Regions from separate parts of the Homo sapiens genome. Here all the other regions are linked to region 1. Evidence: promoter capture Hi-C in 16 types of primary human blood cells and fetal thymus (Javierre and others, 2016). All regions are on one chromosome and are shown on one strand. Each heading gives the region's core, a stretch centred on a gene start or on the middle of the fragment in contact. The rest is flanking DNA. Distances are from core to core; before and after follow the strand shown. Region 1 holds the start of CYTL1 (cytokine like 1). Region 2 overlaps EVC (EvC ciliary complex subunit 1). Region 3 overlaps EVC (EvC ciliary complex subunit 1). Region 4 overlaps EVC (EvC ciliary complex subunit 1).

Region 1 (2,700 bases), core at 179-2,678:
GCCCTCAGTTTCCTCGCCTGGGAATTGGGAATAACCCCATTCACTTCATTGGCTGGCTGTGAGGGTCATAGCGTTCCCAATGGCAGCTGGCCTGGTGGCTGCTGGTATGTAAGTCATGTTCAGTGTTAAGGAAGAATCTTCTCCCTTTTGACAGTTCCTTCTTGCTTGTTGCCTGATCTTGGGCAGCCTGAGGACCCCAACTCATCTCTGCCTGCAAGAGTCCTGCTCCTCACCCATCCTGCCCTGTGGGATGGAAGAATGGCAGGAGGACAGGGCCTGAAGTCTCATCCCAACCCATGTGCCTCCAGCTTTGTGACCTCCAGCAAGTTGCTGGAACTCTTGAGCCTCAGTTTTCCCACCTGGAAAATGGGACTCTTTTCTGTGGCACCTACCTCACAGAGACAATTGCTGGATTTAACAGAGACAGTGCTATTAGCTCCGATCACTTGGAAACACACAATGGGCCTGGCATGAGGCTTGCTCAGTCATGCTATATCCTGTTGATTCCTCACTATGGCCTTTTGAGTGAGCCACTCTCACCAGCCTCATCTCACAGATAAGGAGATGGAGGAAACACTGAAGAAACTTGCCCAAGGTCAAAGCCAGAAGGCGGTGACCCTGCTTTGCACCCACGGCGTCTAAGTGGAGAGCCTAGACCTTTACCTGCCACTGTCTTGGGAAGTTAGCCCTGAGGGAGATGCACTTCTTGAAAACTAACCCTTCCTGAGGGTCTGCTCTCCCTCGGGGCCTGTGCTGGGAGCTTGAGGTAGAAGAGGGTGGGGGTACTCACACTCCCCACACATACGGCCGCTCAGTGAGCCCATCCTCCGGACCGAGAGACACACACGGCTTCTGAGAGGCTGGGGGCCCTGGCCCAAGGCTCACCTACCTGGTTAGCGATTGATGGACGAGGACACCGGTGGCCTGACCGCAGCTCTGCATCCCTGCTCCACTGCGGGCTGCCTGGAGGGAGGGATGCTCAGTCATCCCCTGCTAGTCCCTTTCCCTCCTGGCACTATATCCATTTTGACAAACCGTGCCATCCAAACCCAGGCCTGACTGCCCACTCCTCTCCTCTGACCCTCCCCTCCTTCCATCTCTGTCCTCCTCTTATCCCCCACCCCTCTCCATCTGCTGTTCCTGCCTTTTCAGGAAAAGTCCCTGTGCAGAAAGAAATTTCTTGCTGAAAGTGTGGGGGAGGCAAAGCCACCCTCTGTCACCCCCTCCTCCAGGCAGCCCCTCCTCTTAACCTGGGGCTTTCGTGTCTGAGAGGATTCCTGTCCCGACCCTGCCCGGTGGGCGTGCTGGCTTCCTCTCTGCCACCCTGGATGGACCGCAGCCTGCGCTGGCCCCACAGGAAGTGGAGGCGTGGAGCCGCCCTGGACCACCCCCAGCCTGCATAAAGGGGCGGTCGGCGAGGCTGCACCAGCGCCTGGCACCATGAGGACGCCTGGGCCTCTGCCCGTGCTGCTGCTGCTCCTGGCGGGAGCCCCCGCCGCGCGGCCCACTCCCCCGACCTGCTACTCCCGCATGCGGGCCCTGAGCCAGGAGATCACCCGCGACTTCAACCTCCTGCAGGTCTCGGAGCCCTCGGTGAGTCCCCCGCCCGCTCAGGACAGGGGTGCATGGCAGACCCAGTTCTTAAACCCTTGCCTTTACACGAAAAAAAAAAGAGAGAGAGAGAGAAAAGGATATTTTTCTTTTCTAGTAAATGTAAATCTCAGGAGTATTTGTGTTTTATTCATCTCCTTTTAAATATGATACCAATGGTTTGCTTTCTTCAAAACACAAGAAAAAGTAAAGACAACACAATTTTTGTGACTTACTAGCAAATATCAAAGGATCTGTTGTAAAATGTAAAAAAAAAAAAAAAAAAAAAAAAGAAAAAAGAAAAAAAAAGGAGTGGGAGGATGGGGAGAAAAACAGCTCCCCATCAGAGTTAAGGAGGACGGAGGAATGAAGCTTGTGTATTGCTTTTGTTAGCCTAGTGAGGAGTGTGCCCTAAGAGGTGGCTCACAGAACTGGCCTCCGCCCCTCATCTGCTGAGGGACCCGGGCAAATTTCTCAGCCTCTGCCTTTCAGTTTTCTTGTCTGTAAAATGGGATGACAGTAGCACCCCTCCCTTTAGAGTGGCTTTGACGATCAAAGGCAGGTGTGAACACAGGCAGGGCTCACAGAGCCAAGCCTACAGGAACAAGTACTCAACAGATGCCAGCTGATGTGAGCACGATCTTCAGAGGCAGATCTGGGGACTCAGAGAGGGGAAGACCCGGGAGGGCTTTTGGGGACTAGAACCCAGGCCTCTGCCTGCTTCTCCGTCGAAACAAAATGCATTAAACTTCATTAAAAGCTTTTGTAAAGTTTCAAAGTGTCTTTTAATCACTTGCAAATGCTTCAAACAAAACATAATGTTTCTCAGATGTTGGGGTTTACAAAAGCCTAGCTAACACCTTCTTGGTATTTTCTTTTTAAAAGTTAAATAACATGTATTTTTTCCCTAATTATAAAAGTATTGTACTTTGTAGAACAGTTGGAAAATAAAGTACAAAGAAGAAAAAAAATCTTGCTTGTAATTCTACCACCTAGAGGTAGCTGCTGCCGTAGCATTGTGGAGGATCATATTTCAGCTTTCTGTCTACATATAGGTATTCAAATACGTGTGTGTTGTGTGTGTGTGTGTGTGTAAACAAAATTTGGGTC
Region 2 (2,700 bases), core at 178-2,677, 770 kb before region 1:
TAGAGGGCACTTGCATTCCCGGGCTCACAGCCCCTTCCTCCGTCTTCAAGTCCAGCAATGGCTGCAGAGTCTTCCTCACTCCTCACTCTGGCACTGCTGCTCCTTTTTCACTTATAAGGACCCTTGTGATAACATGGGGCCAAGCCAGATCATCGGGAGAATATCCCCATCTCACGATCCTTTGCTTAATCACATTCGCAAAGATTTGCAAAGTCCTTTTTGCCTTGTAACCAGACATATTCACGGGTTTTAGGGATTAGGATGTGGGCCTCTCTGGGGGGCCATTATAGCTGCCTACCGCAAGGGGACTGAGAGCAGAAATCTGCATTAGAGCAGATTAAATTTTGAGAAACACCATTCTACAACCTGTTCTAACGGGGTAATTCACAAATTCCATTAATTTTTAATAACTTCCCTGAGCAATGGGATATGAAACGACCCACTGTCTTTTTGGATAGAAAACAATGTGGGAAAGGCAATTTGTAGTCGATGTGTTTTTGATTTTCCATGAATAGCTTCGCTGGTGCTTTTCTTCTCATGACTAATATTCATCTGAATGACAGAGAGCTCATTTCTCTTTTTTTCATCAATGAGGAAATATGGCAGGTGGATCTCTAACTATCGTGTGTTAATTTTTTTTTTTTTTTTTTTGAGACGGAGTCTCGCTCTGTCACCCAGGCTGGAGTTCAGTGGCGTGATCTCGGCTCACTGCAAGCTCTGCCTCCCGGGTTCACGCCATTCTCCTGCCTCAGCCTCCCGAGTAGCTGGGACTACAGGCACCTGTCATCACACTTGGCTAATTTTTGTATTTTTAGTAGAGACGGGGTTTCACCATGTTAGCCAGGATGGTCTCGATCTCCTGACCTCATGATCCGCCCGTCTTGGCCTCCCAAAGTGCTGGGATTATAGGCGTGAGCCACCGCACCCGGCTATCATGTGTTAATTTAAGGCAGTTAAGTAATCAGTAAATTAACTGTGACATAGACACCTTGAGAAAACAGTCTTGGGTCATACTTATGTAATCAGCTGATGAGGTCATTAACTCTCCTGCTTGCTTCCTGCATGCAAAACTCAACCAGAAACCTTCCCCACATGCCAAGAAAAATTCACAATCGTATGCTCACAAAGTAAACAAATAAAACATTCAAAACAGAGCTGAGCATAGTCTATTTGCCTAAAATAACTTAAGACTCCTAACCAGAGAGTTTTAGATGAATCACAGGTGTTTTGTCAGAAATGAAATTCTGGATTCCTTCACTATCAATACCATTAAATGATTCAACAGATATTGTGCAAAAGGTCTTAACTTGCATTATCTGAATGGAATCATTTGGATATTGTGACCCTTAGTTTTCACATAGAAGGTGTAGTTCTGAGGCATTTTTAGCAAGTTGTGTAAAATCACAGAGTTGCAAGAGGTCAGCTCACTGGCTAAAGTCACACAGCCCATTAATGTGTCTGCTCTGGCTCAAACCCATATCTTAGGCTTCTGAGGTTAGGGGCCTGGCTGCAAAACCACAATGGTCTCTAAAAGGCCCCTACACTCATTTAGTGGGTCCACTTCAGAGGCCCATTAGGCTCACCTGGTTTCTGAGACACTGAGGCCCAGGTCCTCCTCCCTCCCCAAAGACTGTAAATGAATTGGTCTGCGGCCTAGGATTTGGAATGAATAGGAAGAATTCAGCTTCATTTAGATCCCTTCGAAGAATACAGGGCAAAGGCAACACTGTAATCATTTCCAAAGCTGCATTATTGTTGCTGGAAATGCTACAAGTTTTCCTGAACATTTACCATATTGCAGCCACTGGGCTTTGAATAGGTGGTGTCAAGATGAAAATCAGGGTTGCCGTCCTCAAGGAACTCATAGCCAAATGCAGGAGACAGACAAGTCACCTACGACAGGGCAACCGGATGCCACTGACAGAGGACTGAATGAACTAGAAGGAGGTCTAAGAATTCATTCGGGCAGGCAACTAGGCCCTGTGCCTGTCCCCACAGCTGTGAGTGGTCATGTGTTTGCATAACGCTCTCCTCTATCTACTTTGTACTTTCTATTGCCCCAAGGAATTGTTTTAGGAAACCTCTTTCAGATGGATGCATCAGTCACACTGGTCTTTTGTAACTAATCGCAAACCCAACTTAAAGAAACAGGGCTTGTTTCTGACAATAAGCATGTAGGGGCAGGCGGTTCAGGGCTGCGGTAATGGCTTAACAGCACTGCCAGGGGCTCAGGGCTGTCTGAGACTGCTCCACCATCTGGAGCCCACCAGGCTCACGCAGGCTGCCTCTAGGGCAGAGAAAGGCTGATGCACCTCCAGGCCTCCCATGCGTTCTAAGAAGGAAGAATGGGACACTGAAGAAGGGGGCTGCTCCAAGCAAAACCGGCTCTGGTATCAGGAAACAGAAGCCCTTTGCTTTGTTTCAAAGGCCAGAGCAGTGTCACTCAGCCATGGCTAGTTGCAAGGGATATGGATATTGAGGATGTTAGTTTCACAGCCTCTAGAGGGCCGAAGGCAGGGGAGAAAGGACTGGTGGGCTGTCTTGGTGGATGTTGAATTTGGAAATGCCTTCTTTAATTTAACAGTTTTTAATTTTTTAAAGATAAAATCAATCTGGGCTGGGCACAGTGGCTCATGCCTGTAATCCCAGCACTTCGGGAGGCTAAGGCGGGCAGATCACTTGAGTTCAGGAGTTTGAGAT
Region 3 (2,810 bases), core at 115-2,614, 720 kb before region 1:
TTGAATTAATTTTTGTATAAGGTGTGAAGTTTAGGTTGAGGTTCTTTTGTCGTTGTTATTGTTTATGGATGTCCAATTGCTCCAGTACCATTTATTGAAAAGCTTATCATTCCTCCATTGAAGTGCTTTTGCCTCTTTGTCAAAGGTCATTTAGATATAATATGGTCATTTAGATATAATAAGGCATTTTCTTTTTCTTTGGTGAACCGGTAAGGCTTTTTTTTTTTTTTTTGAGATGGGGTTTCTCTGTGTTGCCCAGGCTGGTCTCGAACTCCTGAACTCATGCAACCTGCCTGCCTCCACCTCCCAAAGTGCTGGGATTATAGGCATGAGTCACTGCATCCCGCCTGGTAAGGCATTTTTAAATGCAGGGGTTAGCAAACTTTTTCAGTAAAGGGTGAAACAGCAAATTTTTTTTGGCTTTGCAGGCCATATGATCTCTTTTGCAACTACTCAGTTCTGCGGTTGTGGCATATGCCACACAGGCATACAGGCAATATGGAAAAGAAGGACATGGCCAGATTTGGCTCAAGGGCCACAGTTTTTGATCCTTCTTTTAATGGATTAAGGCTTGTTAATCACTCTTCTGGGCCAGCCTAATGTATGTATTATACATACTATCACTTGATCTCCATGGCATGCGGGGAGGTTGGTACCATCTTCCGCATTTTACAGATGAGAAAATGCCCAGCAACTTGCAGGGGCCACTTGCCTCCTGCCACACAGCCACATGCGACAGAGCTGAGATTTGAACCCAGAATTCTGCCCACCAACCTTCATTATATTTGCCAATGACAATGAGCTCTAAGGAGAAAGTGGTGTCCTGGCTTTCTACTCACTGAAGACTGATATGGTATAAGATATAATAACATTATTTTTGCAAGATGTTAGTTTCGAGTCTACTTTCTTCCTGACCCCAAATAAATCAGTAATGTTTACAGCCCTCATCCTCTCCCTTTCCATAGTGCCAACTTTGAGATAGTTATAGATTCAAATGAAGGTACAAAAATAATACAAGCATACCATGGAGGTATTGTAGGGTTGATTTCAGGCCACCTCAGTAAGGTGAATATCACAATAAAGCAAGCCGCACACATTTTTTGGTTTTCTAGTGCATATAAAAGCTATGTTTACACTATACTGTAGTCTAAGTGTACAATAGCAGTATGTCTAAAAAAGTACATACCTTAATTTTAAAAATAACTTCTTCCTAAAAAATGCTAATGATCATCTGAGCCTAAGATGATTATTAAAAAAAAGTTGTTGGGCTGGGTGCGGTGGCTCACACCCGTAATCCCAGCACTTTGGGAGGCGGAGGCAGGTGGATCACAAGGTCAAGAGATTGAGACCCATCCTGGCCAACATGGTGAAACCCCGTCTCTACTAAAAATGCAAAAATTGTCTGGGCGAGGTGGTGCGCGCCTGTGGTCCCAGCTGCTCGGGAGGCTGAGGCGGGAGAATCACTTGAATCTGGGAGGCAAAGTTTGCAGTGAGTTGAGATCTCCGTCTTAAAAAAAAAAAAAAAGTTGTAATCTTTTAGCTGGTGGAGGGTCTTGTCTCAATGTTGATGGCTACTGACTTATGAGGGTAGTGGTTGCTGAAGGTTAGGGTGGCTGTGGCAGTTTCTTAAAATAAGACCACTCTGAAGTGGGCCACATCAGCTGACTCTTCCTTTCACAAAAGATTTCTCTGCAGCGTGCCATGCTATTCGATAGCAATTTGCCCACAGTAGAACTTTAAAACTTGGAGTCAATCCTCTCAAACCCTGCAGCTGCTTTATCAAATAAGTTTACATAGTATTCTAAATCCTTTTTGTCATTTCAACAATGTTCACAGCATCTTCACCAGAAGCAGATTCCTTCTCTAGAAACCACTTTCATTGCTCATCCATCAGAAGCAGCTCCTCATCCAGTCATGTTTCATCATGAGATTGCAGCAGCTCAGTCCCATCTTCAGGCTCCAATTCTAATCCTAGTTTTCTTGCTATTTCCACATTTCCAATGACTTCCTCCACTGAAGTTCTGAATCCCCTCAAAGTCATTCATGAGGATTGAAATCAACCTCTTCCAAACTCTTGTTAATGTTGATATTTTGACCTCCTCCTATGAATCATGAATATTCTCAATGGCATCTAGAATGGTGAATCCTTTCCAGAAGGTTTTCAATTTACATTGTTCAAATCCTTCAGAGGAATCACTATGTATGGCAGTTAGAGCCTTAGGAAATGTATTTCTTAAATAATAAGACTTGAAAGTTGAAATTACTCTTTAATCAATAGGCTCAGAATGAATGTTGTGTTAGCAGGCATGAAAATGACATTAACTTCCTTGTACATCTTCATCAGAGCTCTCGGGTGACCAGGGGTTTTGAAAATGACCAGTAACATTTTGAAAAGAAGTTTATTTTCTGGGCAGTAGGTGTCAATAGTGGGCTTAAACTATGCTATAAACAGCTGTGTTGTGATCCAGGCTTTGTTGTTCCACTTATAGAGCACAGGCAGAGTAGATTTAGCATCACCCTTAAGGGCCCTAGGACTTTCGGAGTGGTGCATGAGCACTGGCTTCAACTTAAAGTCATCTCCCGCATTAGCCCCTAGCGAGAGAGTCAGCCTGTTCTTTGAAGCTTTGAAGCCAGGTATTGACTTCTCCTCTTTAGCTATGAAGTCTTAGATGGCATCTTCTTCCATGACCATATTGTGCTATTTCATCTGCATTGAAAATCTGTTGTTTAGTGCAGCCACCTTGCTCAATGGTCTTAGCTAGATCTTCTGGGTAACTTGCTGAAGCTTCTCCATCAGCACTTGCTGCTGC
Region 4 (2,700 bases), core at 44-2,543, 790 kb before region 1:
CTTGCTGACTCAGCCTTTTGCTGCTTAAAACAGAGAAGAAAGGCAGCCAGTTAGAACGCTGACTCCATGCCCATCATGATGCCATAACTTACCCAATCGGATTAAATGAAAATGCAGCCAAAGGTGATCAAAACAATTTTTACTTTGACATGGGTTGTTAAGAAACCAATAAAACCCGTTTCCCTCCTTGGGTAGGAGGTCATCCAAGTGCCATGACCACAGCCATCCCTGGTCAAAGAAGGGACTGCCCAACACTTCAGGCTGGATGCCAATGGGGTGTGGAGGTAGGTCAAGGCTCATCTGGCCAAATGAGACACAAACAGGAAGGGTAACAGCCATGTGGCACCCCTGGTATCATCATGGCTTACTGCCCACAAATTACGTTCATATCTGTCATTTCTTGAACCTTCACATTTAATGCCTCTGAGGGGACTGATGATTTTCCTGCCCTGACTTTTGGCACACAGCAGCTGAGTGCATTTACCAAACCCAGCCACAGGCAACAGGTCCGGGGCCCAGTCATACCTGAGTGAGCCTGAGGTCTGGTCCCCGGAGGCAAGGTCCTCATTGTTGGGCACCCCCAGGTCCCCTCTTTCCTGGGGCAGGGGCTTCTTCCTTTTAGTCCTTAGGGGCTTCTCTGTAGAGGACAGATGAACCCAGGCATGGCTCTGTGACTTTAGACAAGTGACAACTTCTTGCAGCCTCACACCAACCCAGCCTGACATTTTTGAGCATGTTGTGTGGGCCAAGTGTATGCTTGGTATCTTATGCTATTGCAGCCACTCAACTAATGAGGAAACTGAGGCCTGGGAAGGTGACGTACTCTCCCAAGCCTGCACAAGCCAGGAAGTGGCAGAGCTGTGGCTTGAGCTCCAGTCTGCTAGGCTCCCGCTGGGTATCCACTCTACCCAGCTGACTGGAAGACTTAATGAAGCAGCAAGCAACTGAAAACCCAGCACCAGTGTGACAGCTTTTGTTTCAGTAGATCTCTGTGTTCTCACACCACCTTCTGAGTCACTCTCTCATTACCAGGTTAAAAAATCCTGTGATGTCACTGAAGTTGTCGCTGGCAAGGGTGGGAGGAGGGCTTATCCCCACTTTACAGATGGAAAAATGGAGTCAGTTAGGAGACACAGCCAGTGAACACCAGACCCAAGAACTGGAATTATCAAATGCTAGAGAGCAAGTGGGCCTGAGGGGTGGCCTAGCCAAGCCTGCTCATTTACAGACAAGGTCACAAAAGCCCAGAGAGCCTAGGCACGATGCCTAAGGTCACACAGCTAGTTAGTGGCCAGTGTGGAACTAGAATCCGTATCTCTCAGCCCAGAGTGCTTCCCGCTGCAACTCAAGCATCTGTGACTCACCTAGCAGCCCACGCTTAGCAGGCAACAGTTTGCTTTCAGCAAGGGGCACTCGGGCCAAGGCTGCCAGCTCGGAGATGAAGTTCTGTTCAGCTTCCTGAAATGCAAGCAGAGAGGAGCATTCAGCTGGGCCTCCCTCTGACTTCTCTAAATCCCTCTCCACGTGAGTGAATTCTGACACTTGAGGCTGGCCACTGAAGACCACGTCTCCCGTGTGGAGGAGAATTTTCCAACATACATCCCAGAGAGGAGAGGAGCAGGAGGACACACTGGCATCTACCAGCTCCTGCTGCATAACTGTGGGTCCTCACTCACACTGGCCGTCGGTCTTCAGTTGACAGAGTACACTGAGGTCAGAGGGCCTCAGTGACCTGCCCGGAGCAGGTGCAGCAGAATAGGATGGGACTCACTTCTGCCCGACTCCACAGGCTGGGCTCTAAACTTCCAACACTGTGGTGTAAACAAACACACCAGAATTCCATGATGCATTAACTGTGTGACCCTGGATAGCAACGTAACCTGTGCATGCCTCAGTTTGTCCATCTGTAATGGGGACAGTAGCAGTAACCTCTTTTGTTGGAAAGTGTGTGCAAAGCTCTCAGCTCATGACTATCTATCATAGACCCTCAATAAGTACCTATCGGCCACCACTGCTGTATTCTTACCACTGTCACTCTGCGACTGCCATCGCCAGTGGAGAACACTCTGAAAGGGCCAACACTCTGCTAAATGCTTCCATTCTGGAAGATTTGATTTTTTTAAAGGCAGCCACTTTGCTTAGCCACACTTTATACTCTCACCTTACATCTCACTGTATAACCTCACACAAATGGGATTTTCTGTAATGAAATATGCACTTTATATCATGAGAGCTGAGCTTCCTGTTTGCTGTAAATAAAGTGTAAACTTTAGCTATCGCCAACACTGCCTGAGTGACACAGAGGTCACCATTACACCGGAAGCCTCCTGGTGGCCATGCGCACACAGGGGAATGCTCAATTCTCTGTCAGCTCCATAGATGAGGCCTGACCAGCTGCTCAGGGCCTGGCCCTGCTTAGCATGCTGCAGCTGCTGTAGGGATCCACACAGGCCACACTTGCCCTCCAGGGGCTCAGGGTCCTAAGGCGAGGCCGACACACCCTCAGCAGGTGAGACTCAGCGGGTCAACGATGCCACAGGCAGGGAAGTGCAGTCCCCATGGCTGACGTGTGGTCACAGGCTGGCTTCAGCTATTTCTGCTCCTCTTTAAACCACTGCTTTTGGAAGGTCCAGTTCTGTAACTTGTACCTGTAGCTGGGTCTCCAGCTGGGCTTCCAGAAGGTCCATGACTCCTGCCTGC

What was found. Contacts are between HindIII fragments. The CHiCAGO score rates a contact against its expected background, and 5 or more counts as called.
Region 2: a fragment that was not itself captured here is called in contact with the fragment with the promoter of CYTL1 in region 1 in 5 of 17 cell types (M2 macrophages, M0 macrophages, monocytes and 2 more); the score reaches 8.5 in M2 macrophages.
Region 3: a fragment that was not itself captured here is called in contact with the fragment with the promoter of CYTL1 in region 1 in 1 of 17 cell types (monocytes); the score reaches 5.4 in monocytes.
Region 4: a fragment that was not itself captured here is called in contact with the fragment with the promoter of CYTL1 in region 1 in 5 of 17 cell types (M2 macrophages, megakaryocytes, monocytes and 2 more); the score reaches 12.8 in M2 macrophages.

The regions. Positions count from the first base shown.
Region 1 is chr4:5,018,186-5,020,885 of GRCh38, reverse strand. CYTL1 (cytokine like 1) reads left to right here and starts at 1,428. Exons shown (of 4, transcript NM_018659.3): 1 at 1,428-1,593. The coding sequence starts at 1,441. It also overlaps a transcript of STK32B not described here. The HindIII fragment of the contact is 2,032 bases long and covers 1-1,964 here.
Region 2 is chr4:5,784,823-5,787,522 of GRCh38, reverse strand. The region is part of intron 12 of EVC (EvC ciliary complex subunit 1); the gene reads right to left. Among named protein-coding and RNA genes, the nearest start is that of EVC, 75 kb to the right of the region's middle. The HindIII fragment of the contact is 4,182 bases long and covers 1-2,700 here.
Region 3 is chr4:5,737,322-5,740,131 of GRCh38, reverse strand. All of the region lies in intron 5 of EVC (EvC ciliary complex subunit 1), which reads right to left. Among named protein-coding and RNA genes, the nearest start is that of EVC, 28 kb to the right of the region's middle. The HindIII fragment of the contact is 2,520 bases long and covers 105-2,624 here.
Region 4 is chr4:5,808,276-5,810,975 of GRCh38, reverse strand. It overlaps EVC (EvC ciliary complex subunit 1), which reads right to left. Exons shown (of 21, transcript NM_153717.3): 18 at 2,649-2,700; 19 at 1,365-1,458; 20 at 526-637; 21 at 1-23. Among named protein-coding and RNA genes, the nearest start is that of CRMP1, 83 kb to the left of the region's middle. The HindIII fragment of the contact is 3,963 bases long and covers 1-2,700 here.